Regions from separate parts of the Homo sapiens genome. Here region 1 is linked to region 2. Evidence: promoter capture Hi-C in human tissues and cell types (Jung and others, 2019). All regions are on one chromosome and are shown on one strand. The core of a region is centred on a gene start or on the middle of the fragment in contact, and the rest is flanking DNA. Distances in the headings are between cores, read along the strand shown.

Region 1 (6,368 bases), core at 294-2,793, 60 kb before region 2:
GATATACACAGTAAAGTCATGCTTGCAAATGACAAATGAACACTAGGGTACTGTCTTGCTCATACTCTTCAACAAGCATGATGACATTTTCTTTCATAACATTGTACTCTAACATGACAATCTTTTTTTTTAATTTCTGAATTTTTTTTTTTTTTTGAGGCAGGGTCTCGCTCTGTCACCCAGGCCGTTCAAGTGCCACAATCTCTGCTCACTGCAATCTCTGCCTCCCAGGCTCAAGCCATACTCCCACCTCAGCCTCCCAAATAGCTGGAACCACAGGTGTATGCCACCATGCATGGCTAATTTTTGTATTTTTTGTAAAGATGGGGTTTTGCCATGTTGCTCAGGCTAGTATCAAACTCCTGAGCTCAAGCGATCTGCCTGCCTCGGACTCCCAAAGTGCTGGGACTACAGGCGTGAGCTACTGCGCTCAGCCTAAAATGTCAATCTTAATTAAATTATTTGCTTAGGTTAAGATTATCTGGAATATATATATATATATATATATATATATATTTTTTTTTTTTTTTTTGAGACGGAGTTTTGCTCTGGTTGCCCAGGCTGGAGTGCAATGGCACGATCTCGGCTCACCACAACCTCTGACTCCCGGGTTCAAGTGATTCTCCTGCCTCAGCCTCCCAAGTAGTTGGGATTACAGGCATGCACCACCATGCTCAGCTAATTTTGTATTTTTAGTGGAGATGGGGTTTCTCCATGTTGGTCAGGCTGGTCTCGAACTCCCGACCTCATGTGATCCACCCGCCTCAGCCTCCCAAAGTGCTGAGATTACAGGTGTGAGCCACCGCGCTCAGCTATGTGCAATATATTTTTAAAGCATTTCTGGATGAACACTTATTTCAAATGAGCGCGCACACACACATACACATACACACAAAATCAAAGCAATCTTTTTTCTTTTTAAAGAAAATTCTTTAAAAAGGTGGCCCACAACTGTAATCCCAACACTTTGGGAGGGTGAGGCAGTGGATCACTTGAGGTCAGGCATTTGAGACTATCCTGGGCAACATGGCAAAACCCACTCTTTGCAAAAACAAACAAACAAAAAAAAAGTCAATTCTTTTCAGAGCCATAATTTCGAATAGTCACCATGTCTGCATGAATCCATTTTTTTGTTATTAACTTAATATAAATGACTAAAGGTCATTTTCCATAGAAATGCAAAGTCCAGCTGGCCTGGTGGCTCACACCTGCAGTCTCCACTAGTAGGGAGGCTGAGGTGGCAGGATTGCTTGAGCTCAGGAGGTCAAGGCTGCAGTGATCATGCCACTGCACTCTAACCTGGATGACAGAGTGAGACCTCAACTCTGAAAAAAGAAAAAAAAGAAATACGAAATTTAAAAATGTATAGTGATTCCTTTCCTCACCTCTGTTGAACTTTCATTACTGGGTGAAGAGAGATCATGCTTTCATTTCATCAGGCATTTGAGAGATGCCACCACTATGGTTCTATTCATAAAAATCTCCATGTAGGAATAGTATTGTATAGTTCACAAAGTATGCAGCTATTATCATCTTATGATCCCTACAACATCCGTGAAAGGCCAGCAGATCAGGAATTCTAATCTCTACTTACAGATGGGAAACTGAAGACGGAAGAGATTTGCCCAAGGCTGTGGCACACACCAACTCACAAACTGGGATTCAAATCCAGACCTTCTGGTGCCTAATCCACTCTCTTTTCTGTATATTTTGCTTCCCCCTCCCCAGCACTTTCTCCCTGCAAAAAGAAGATATTGATGTTTTGAGACAGACTAAAAATCTCATTTGCCTGCTTCCCCCTCTAAAAAAAAACACAGTAAGTAACTTACCAGGTGTGTTCAATGTAGTTTGCACCTCTGTGCTACAACCAATATAGGGGCATTTATCAACAGGACTGGCATTGTATTTATCAACAGGACTGGCATTGTATGGTGGGGATGAAGTCTATGCAGCCTTTGGGGAGACCTGGCAGCAGCTTCTCTGTTGTGTCCTTGGAGGAGTTCCAGTGCACTGCAATTGGACAACAGCAACCAAATGTTGCTCCCAATCCAGCCCCAGTGGCTCCCAGCTGCCCTGGCCTGCTTTCTCATCTGGTAAAACACAGGAGTTGGGGAGAAGGTAGCTGGCACTGGAAAAGTTGCTACTGGATGAAGGGTTGGCATAGTTCCTTATAGACACTTAAGATGGGGAAAGAAGTAGAAGATGGGAGAGATTGGCCACAATTTTTGGAACTTGCCCCGAAGGAAGGGGCCAGGAAGCTTTTGCACAAGGTAGCAGAACATGAAGTGCTGGTTCTGGTTCTCCAACTACAGCTGGTGAGCTGGGGAAGGAGTTTAAGAGGTCATCAAGTCCACCTTTCATTCATCCATTCATTCATTCATCTGTTCATTCCTTCAAATGATTATTGAACACCTAGAGGTGCTTAGGATACGGTAGGGAACAAATCAAAGTCCCTGCCCCCGAGGAGTTTACATTCTAGTGGGGAGAGACAAACTTTTTTTTTTTTTTTTTTTTGAGACGGAGTCTCGCTCTGTCGCCCAGGCTGGAGTGCAGTGGCGGGATCTCGGCTCACTGCAAGCTCCGCCTCCCGGGTTCACGCCATTCTCCTGCCTCAGCCTCCCGATTAGCTGGGACTACAGGCGCCCGCCACTACGCCCAGCTAATTTTTTGTATTTTTAGTAGAGACGGGGTTTCACCGTTTTAGCCGGGATGGTCTCGATCAGGGAGAGACAAACTTTAAGCAAGCAAAAAAATACAGGCATTCTTGGAGATTTTGTGGGTTTGGTTCCAGACCACCACAATAAAGTTGATATTGCAATAAAGTGAGCCACATCAATTTTTTGGCTTCCCAGTGCGTATAGAAGTTATTTTGTCCAGATCTATCAGAGGAATCACTATTGATGCAAGCTTCAGCCCCTTATGAGATCATTTCTTTCTTTCGTTTGTTTTTTTTTTTTTTTAGTCAGGGCCTTGCTCTGTCATGCAGGCTGGAGTGCAGTGGCAATCACAGCTCTCTGCAGCCTCAAACTCCTGGGCTCAAGTGATCCTCCCACCTCAGCCTCCCGAGTAGCTGGGACTGCAGGCACTTGCCACCATGCCTAACTAATTTTTTTTTTTAATTGTAGAGACAAGGTTTCACCATGTTGCTCAAGGCTGGTCTGGAATTCATGGGCACAAGTGATCCACCTGCCTCGTCCTGCCAAAGTGCTGGGATTACAGGCATGAGGCACTGCATCCTGCTGAGATCTATCTCTTAAATAATGGGACTTGAAAGTCGAAATTACTCTTGATCCATAGGCTGCAGAATGAAAGTTGTGTAAGCAGGCATGAAAACATTAATCTCCTTGTACATCTCCATGAGAGATCTCGGGTGAATAAGCACATTGTCATTGAGCACTAATATTTCTAAAGGAATCTTTTGTTCTGAGCAGCAGGTCTCAATGGTGGGCTTAAAATATTCAGTAAACTATGCTGTAAACAGGTGTTCTGTCATCCAGGCTTTGTTATTCCATTTATAAAGCATAGGATGAGGAGATTTAGCATAATTCTTAAGGGCCCTACGATTTTCAGAATGGTAAATAAGCATTGACTTCAACTTCAAGTCACCAGCTGCATTAGCCCCTAGCAAGTCAGCTTGTCCTTTTAAGCTTTGAAGCCAGATATTGACTTCTCCTCTCTAGCTATGAAAGTCCTAGATGGAATCTTCTTCCAATACAATGTTGTTTTGTCTATACTGAAAATCTGTTGTTGAGTGTAACCACCTTCATTGATAATCTTTGCTAGATCTTTTGGATAACTTGCTACAGCTTCTACATCAGCACTTGCTGCTTCATCTTGCACTCTTATGATACAGAAATGGCTTCTTTCCTTCAATCTCATGAACCAACATCTGTTAGTGTCAAACTTTTCCTCTGCAGCTTCCTCTTCTCTCTTAGCCTTCATAGAATTGAAGAGAGTTAGGGCCTTGCTCTGGATTAGGCTTTGACTTCAGGAATAGTGTGGCTGGTTTGAGCATCTATCCAGATTACTCAAACTTTCTCCATATCAGAAATAAAGTTGTTTTGCTTTTGTATCATTTGTGTGTTCACTGGAGTAGCACTTTTAATTTCCTCCAATAACTTTTTCTTTGCATTCACAATTTGGCTGCAAGAAGCCTAACTTTCAACCTAACTTGGCTTTAGACATGCCTTCCTCACTAAGCTTAATGATTTATAGGTTTGTTTGTTTTTTGTTTGTTTGTTTTTTTAAGATGGAGTCTACTGTGGCTCAAGCTGGAGTGCAGCGGTGCGATTTCGGCTCACTGCAACCTCTGCCTCCTTGGTTCAAGCTGTTCTCCTGCCTCAGCCTCCTGAGTAGCTGGGATTACAAGCATGCACCACCATGCCAGGCTAATGTTTGTATTCTTAGTAGAGACGGGGTTTCACCATGTTGGTCAGGCTGGTCTTGAACTCCTGACCTCAAGAGATCTGCCCACCTCGGCCTCCCAAAGTGCTGAGATTACAGGCGTGAGCCACCATGCCCAGCCCACTTCTAGCTCTTGATTTAAAGTAAGAGACATGCAACTCTTCCTTTCACTTGAACACTTAGAAGCTGTTGTAGAGTTATTAATTGGCCTTATTTCAGTATTGTTGTTTCTTAGGGAATCGGGAGGCCTGAGGAGAGAGATGGACAGCTGTTCAGTGGAGCAGTCAGACACGTACAATATTTACTGATTGAGTTCTCAATTTAATATGGGTAGTTCATGGTGTCCAAAACAATTACAATAGTAACATCCAAGATCACTGATCACAGATCACCATAACAGATATAATAATAACAACAATTAAAATATTGCAAGAATTACCAAAATGTGACACAGAGACCACGAAGTAAGCACATGCTGTTGGAAAAATGGCACCAATAGACTTGCTTGACACAGAGTTGCCACAAAACTTCACTTTGTGAAAAGTGCAATATCTGCAAAGCACACTACGGCGAGGTATGCCTGTAGCATGTCAGCTGGTGATAAGTGCTGTGGAGAACAGGAAAGTCGGGTGAGAGGAAAAGGGGCTGTTTGGGGCTAGAGGTGATCTTATATATGCCAGTTAGGCTGATAACGTGCTGACTACTGACACTGACATCTGAATGGAGACTTGAAGGAAATGAGGGAAGGAGCCATGAAAATATCTGATGGGAAGAGAATTCTAAGGAGAGGGAACATCAAGTGAAAAGACTCCACTGCAGGGAGTATTTGGCATGTTAAAGGAATAGCTAGGAGGCCAGTAGGGTTGGAGCAGCAGGAGGTGGGAAATTGTAGATGAGGTCAGAGAGATTGTGGGTCCTGGACCTGCAGGACAGCATTAGGCTCAGGGGAGACAGAGGCCCACTGGAGGGCATGGAGCAAGGCAATGATAGAATCTGACTTTTAAAGAATCCTCCCAGCTGCTGTTGTGGAAAACATCTTGGGGCTATGCCATGGAACATGATGGAAATCTACTTCATTCTTGGAAGGTCTTGTATATGACTCAGTTGCCCTCATTTTTTAGGTGGGTTTTTATGCTTCTCCCCAGACAGATTTCCATCTATTTGTTTCCTTTCCAATCATCAGATTCTTTAAAATGCAAAATCTGATTTTGTCATCCTCCCTTTGCAACCCCTAACTTCTTTAAAAACAAAAAAAAACAAAAAACAGGTTCTCACTCTGTTGCCCATGGTGGAGTACAATGGCACCATCTCAGCTCACTGCAACCGCCACCTCCTGGGTTCAAGCAATTCTCCTGCCTCAGCCTCTCGAGTAGATGGGACTACAGGCAAATGCCACCACACTTGGCCAATGTTTGTATTTTTGTAGAGACGGGGTTTCGCCATGTCAGCCAGTCTGGTCTTGAACCCCTGGCCTCAAGTGATTCGCCCGCCTCAGCCTCCCAAAGTTTTGGGATTACAGGTAAGAGCCACCCAGCCATTGATCCATTTTCTATATTTAAAATCAGAGAGGCTTCCTCCCCCTTTTAAAATTAGGCATATAGAGAATCTATCTTTAGTAGATTAATGATCCATTATCTTAACAGCTGGTATGAGTGTTTACTATATGGTATTCCCTGTTTAAGGTATTTTGAATGTTTATAATATTACATTTATATATTATTTGATACTAGAACAACTATATATAATATGTCTTTTTGTTGTGGTGGTGATTGTTTTTTTGTTTTTGAAACAGAGTCTCAGCTGGGTGCAGTGGCTCAAACCTGTAATTCCAGCACTTTGGGAGGCCGAGGCAGGTGGATCACCTGAGGTCAGGAGTTTGAGACTAGCCTGGCCAACATAATGAAACCCTGTCTCCACTAAAAATACAAAAATTAGCTGAGTGTGATCGCGGGCACCTGTAATCT
Region 2 (6,101 bases), core at 243-2,742:
TGGTCTCGATCTCCTGACCTCGTGATCCGCCCGCCTCGACCTCCCAAAGTGCTGGGGTTACAGGCGTGAGCCACCGCGCCCGGTCAGGTGTCTGATCATTTCTATACATTCATTATTTTACTTGTAGGGCTGAACACAATGCCAGGGACACAGCAAGAATTTAATATATACTTGTTAAACGAACGAATGAATGCATGTATACATAAAATGTTACGGAATGTTTAACGTATTCCGGGGATAATGAAAGTGGGTGGATTTCTGAGAGAAGGGGTCAGGGTTAGAGTTCTGTACTGCTAATTTTTTCCCCATTATCCATTCTCTCCTTCTTCTACAGTAATAGTTCCCTTATTTTTAGCTGGACACATTTACCAGCCTCTTGGTTGCTGGGTATATGACTGAGTTCTGACCAATAAAATGTGAGCCAAAGTGATATGTGCACCTTTCAGGTCATTGAAAAATATGGGCTGCCCTCTCTTTCCCCTTCATCCTACTAACCACTGGCTGGAAATGGAAATGGCCTTAGCCTAAAGAAGGAAGGGCAAATCCCTAAGGAGGAAAGGCAGAGGTGGAATTAGGACCAGTTGTCTTTCAACTATACCAGAGTTTTTCAAACTGTGGTCTTTGGGCTGATTGCATCAGAATCGCCAGTTACCTGATAAAAATGCAAATTACTGGGTCTTAGCAACTCAAATCTCTAGGATGGGTTCCAAGGATTTTTTTTTAGCTGGAGGCGGTGGTTCACGCCTGAAATCCCAGCACTTTGGGAGGCCGAGGAGGGAGGACTCCTTGAGCCCAGGAATTCGAGACCACCCTGGGCAACATAATGGGAACCCTGTCTCTGTTATTAAAAAAAATTATTACAGACGGCGCAGTGGCTCACGCATGTAATCCCAGCACGTTGGGAGGCCAAGGCCGGCAGATCACTTGACGTCAGGAGTTCGAGACTAACTTGATCAACACGGTGAAACCCTGTCTCTACTAAAAATACAAAAATTAGCAGGGTGTGGTGGCGGGCGCCTGTAGTCCCAGCTACTCGGGAGGCTGAGGCATGAGAATCACGTGAACCCGGGAGGAGGAGGCTGCAGTGAACCGAGATTGCGCCACTGCACTCCAGCCTGGGCGACAGAGCGAGACCATGTCTCAAAAAAAAAATTATTACTATATTTTAAAAATATTTTAAAGAATGTGTAGTTTTAACAGGGACTTCAGGAACTTGTGAGTTAAAACCACGGAACTACGTCAGACTACCTCAAAAATATCCCCAAATGTTTATAAACAAAGCCAAGGGCACGCACTCAGGCCCGGTGAGGTCCAGGAACTGTGCAAGAGGCCTCTGGCTCGGAGGGGCTGAAACAGGTGTCTCCGCGCGCTGGGGGAAGAGCGACTCTCCCGGCAACAGGTAGCACCCGCCAAATCCCGCGGGAACGGCCCTCGCGCCGCGCCCCCTGCCCCACCTCCGCTCGCGGTTGCCATGAAGACCCGGTCCGGGAGCAGTCGACTGCCGGAGACTCGGGAGGCTGAGCTTTCCTCGGCCTGAGCCAGCCAGACCCCGGGCACCGCGCTCACCCCTCTTCGCCGCCACGTCCGCGAAGGCCTCACGCGCGAGGCCAGGCGAGGCCCCGAGGCGCCCACCACTTCACGACACCGGAGCGAACCGGGCGCCAGAGGCTGCGACCCCCCTGCCCCGAATCCTGCCGGTGGGAGTGGCTGCATTTGAACCAAACGGCCTTCGCGGGCAGCAGCCGTCGCCCCGCAGTCCCGGGGCTCCCAAGGGCCTGTGACCGACGCCGCCCTCCGCGTCTTCGTCCCCGAAGCCCCGGGAACCATCCGCCCTCGGGGTAAGGGAGGAGTCGGGGGAGCCGGTGACTGGGCTGTGGGGACGCGGACGGGGCTCCGGGGGCAGCTCTGCCCCCAGACTGGCTTGAGGGAAGCCGTCGGTCTCCTTGGGGCTCTTCTCCCTCCGCCGCTGCACCCCTCCTCGCTTTTTTTTTTTTTTTTGAGCGTCCCAGGCTCGAAGTCTGGGACACTCAGATGGGACGGGAAATGCTCCCTCTTAGTCTTTAAGGCCACAACGAAGGGGGCCACCCACAGGGGTGCTGCAGAAAGAGTGATTTACTGCAATCACCTTCTCTCTTCACAGAGACCATGCTGCAGATGCGAGGAAAGCCGTTTCCTGGAACATCGGAATTCTAACCCCAGGGTGAAGGACTCACGACAGGCGAGGGGCAGACATGCTGAATTCCACGGGCGAACTGGAGTTTTCGAACGAAGAAGATCCCGAGATCATCTCCCAACTCACTTCCCTGCCTCTGTCCGGTGGGAAAAGCTCAGCTGGTGTGCCCGAAAAAACGGGCTATCCGGACTCCGTTTATGTCATGGCAGCCAACATTTTTCAGGGTATTCGAATCGAAAAGTCGGCACAGAAAGTCTTAATCAAGTATGGGAATGAACCCCTGCGGTCCTTGTCCGAGTCTGAGGATCAGTCCTTTCAGCGTTTGTCTTATGAGCTGGCTTTCAGTGCCCTGAAATGTGAGTTGTGCCAGTCTGGAAGATCAACACTAAAAGAAAATAATAGCGAGAGAATTTGGGGAATGCAGCCCTCCTCCTCCCTTCCCCTCATTCACACCAGGTTTTGGTTTTAGGCATGTGCATATCTTTGGTTAATTGCAAGTGTCAAGGAATTAGGGTTCCCATGAAACTAGCTCTTCCAGCCCAGGATTGCAGATTTCCCCGTGCACTGTGTTTGTCCTTAGATCGGTGTAGTGCGCGGTCATTACATTCAACAAGGAAACAATTTATTCCAATGATCATTTCCCTCTCCCTGTATTTTTTTTTCCCTCGTAGACTTAGGGGTCTCGCTTTATTGTCTGGGCTGGTCTCAAACTCTGGACCTCAAGGAATCCTCCCTCTTCAGCTTCCCAAAGTGCTGGGATTACAGGCAGTGAGCCACCACGCCTGGCCTCCCTGTGTATTTCTTTCCATTCCCTGTGTTTACCTTTTTTGGTATTTTAGTTTATGAGCTTTCACAAATATAAAACCAGTGAGGGAGGATGGGGAGAGGAACAGAGACGGAATAAAAAGAAAAGGTGCAAAATTTAAAAAATGAATATCAAAATTACACCAACCCCAATTAAGACTATCCCATTCATAGCCACTAGCTTTAATGGGAGGAGCCAAACTTTAGTAGAACTTCCCTTTCTAATTTGCTTTCAGGGTTTGAGACTCAAGGATGGTTAGTTATCAATCTGAGGCCAAGGGTGGTTGCTCAGGCCTGTAATCCCAGCACTTTTCGAAGCCAAGGTGGGAGGATTGATTGAGCTCAGGCGTTAAAGACCAGCCTGGGCATATAGTGAGATCTCCTCTCTACAAAAAAAAATTTAAAAATTAGCCCAGTATGGTGGCACATGTCTTTAGTCCCAGATACTTGGGAGATTGAGGCGGGAGGATCGCTTGAGCCTGGGAGGCAGAGGTTGCAGTGAGCCAAGATGGTGTCATTGCACTCTAACCTGGTGACAGAGCAAGACCCTGTGGAATTGACACTAGGAAATGACCAAATATTGCTACTATGAGGAGAGCAGTCAAAAGGCTTGAAGTTGTTTGTTTTCGTACTAGCTGTGACTAAAAACTTTATGTTGGTTTGTAAACTGATTGAATGTAGTTCCAAAAAGAAGTTCCAGAAATGTTTAGAATATTAGCAGCATGGCCAAAATGATGAGCAGAAGCCTTCCTAAAGAGACACCTCAAAAAGGGCAACACTCTTTTGCATGATTTTCTTAGTACTTAATGAGCCTTGTACATCCTTGCTCGTAGGAGGCAGTTAATTACTCAGTTCAGCCAGATGCGGTGGCTTACACTTGTAATCCCAGTACTTTTGGAGGTGGAGGTGGGACGATTGCTTGACTTCAGGAGTTCAAGACAAACCTGGACAATATAGCAAGACCCCATCTCTATTTTTAGTTTTATTTTCTATTTTTTTGAGATGGAGTCTCACTCTGTCGCCCAGGCTGAAGTGCAGTGGCACAATCTTGGCTCACTGCAAGCTCCGCCTCCTGGGTTCACGCCATTCTCCTGCCTCAGCCTCCTGAGTAGCTGGGACTACAGGCGCACGCCACCATGCCTGGCTAATTTTTTGTATTTTTAGTAGAGACGGGGTTTCACGGTGTTAGCCAGGATGGTCTCCATCTCCTGACTTTGTGATCCACCCACCTCAGCCTCCCAAAGTGCTGGGATTACAGGCGTGAGCCACTGCACCTGGCCCCCCATCTCTATTTTTTAAAATTAAAAAAAAATGCTCAGTTGAATTAAAATGTCTCACTGATTATTTAGACAGGAATATATATTTTTGGTTGTCTGCAGAGAGTCTCTTTGTTTTTTGTTTCTTTGTTTTCTCCTCAGTAATTTTTCTTTTCCTTTTAAGTCCGTCTTAACCATTCTTCCTCCAGTTTAATCTCTGAGATTTTATTTCATCCATCTTCTTCCCCTCTCCCCTAACCAAAGTGTTGTATTTCATGCAATGAATCAAATGAACATTTTTATACTTTTTTTCTCGCAACAGTGAAATGCAGACTGGGCAGCTGTGTTGATTAATTGGCATTTAATGTTAATGCTAGAATTTTATTCTAGGCAATTTGTTCTCCTAATGGAATATTGAGTATTACCTTTAGTACTCAATAAGAAAAGCCTGAATTATAATTCTATATAAAATTAATGCATTAACTAAATGATTGTATTACAGTGATATGTGTGATAGATTATTATTTTTGTCCTCTCCCTCCTATTTTCTATTTTATGAAAGATCTTGTAATTATTTTATCTTTCTTTTTTTTTTTTTTTAGACAGAGTCTCACTCTGTCACCCAGGCTGGAGTGCAATGGCACAATCTAGGCTCACTGCAACCTCTGCCACCCAGGTTCAAGCACTTCTCTGCCCCAGTCTCCCAAGTAGCTCCCAAGTGGCACCTGCCACCACGCCTGGCTAATTTTTTATTTTTAGTAGAGATGGGGCTTCACCATCTTGCCCAGGCTGGTCTTGAACTCCTGACCTCGTGATCCACCTGCCTTGGCCTCCCAAAGTGCTGTGATCTTTCTTAATGACACAGAAAATCCCATTCAAATAAATTGTCATAAACCTTTATGAAACTTCTTTTCTTGAAACGTTCGTTTTTATAAGTTCAAATTATAAGGTAAGATGGTATTGTTTACTTGTTAAATATATTTTTTCTTATAATAATACGTTGATATGGTTTGGCTGTGTCCCCACCCAAATCTCATCTTGAATTCCCACGTATTGTGAGAGGGACCTGGCGGGAGGTAATGGAATCATGGGGACAGGTCTTTCTTGTACTTGTTCTCATGATAGTTAATAAGTGTCATGAGATCTGATGGTTCTATAAGGGGGAGTTTCCCTGCACAAGCTCTCTTCCCTTGTCTGCCGCCATGTGAGATGTGCCTTTCACCTTCCGCCATGATTGTGAGGCCTCCCCAGCCATATGGAACTGTAAGTCCATTAAACCTCTGTCTTTTGTAAATTCCCCAGTCTCGGGTATATCTTTATCAGCAGCATAAAAATGGACTAATACAACAGTCTTGCTTTAAATTATCAGTAATTCTTGAATGTGCAAATAGAATAAAATCAGAATTTTATGTAGTGGATTTTCCAAGATAATTAGGAGCCTGCTATTTTCCTTTTTTTTTTTTTTTGAGACAGAGTCTTGCTCTGTCACCCACGCTGGAGTGCAGTCAATCGCGCAATCTCGGTTCACTGCAACCTCTGCCTCCCAGGTTCAAGCAATTCTCTGCCTTGGCCTCCCAAGTAGCTGGGATTACAGGCACCTGCCACCATGCCCAGCTAATTTTTGTATTTTTAGTAGAGATGGGAGTTTCACCATGTTGGCCAGGCTGGTCTTGAACTCCTAACCTCAGATAATCTGCCCACGTTGGCCTCCCAAATTGCTGGGATTACAGGTGTGAGCCACTGCAACAAGCCATCTGCTATTTTACTTTTAAAATATTGGAGGCTCTTATGCATTTCACTTTTATCTTCTGTATTATCAGTGTTCTGTCAATACTTTCACATGTGATATTTTGTAAACTTACATCTGG

Evidence for each region. Contacts are between HindIII fragments. The study calls those that stand out against the background at their distance.
Region 1: a contact is called between a fragment that was not itself captured here and the fragment with the promoter of NSUN7 in region 2, in 1 of the 25 tissues and cell types used here (mesenchymal stem cells).

What each region holds. Positions count from the first base shown.
Region 1 is chr4:40,688,892-40,695,259 of GRCh38, forward strand. No RefSeq gene overlaps it. Among named protein-coding and RNA genes, the nearest start is that of NSUN7, 58 kb to the right of the region's middle. The HindIII fragment of the contact is 3,467 bases long and covers 1-3,277 here.
Region 2 is chr4:40,748,463-40,754,563 of GRCh38, forward strand. It overlaps NSUN7 (NOP2/Sun RNA methyltransferase family member 7), which reads left to right and starts at 1,493. Exons shown (of 12, transcript NM_024677.6): 1 at 1,493-1,838; 2 at 2,141-2,529. The coding sequence starts at 2,232. The HindIII fragment of the contact is 15,367 bases long and covers 1-6,101 here.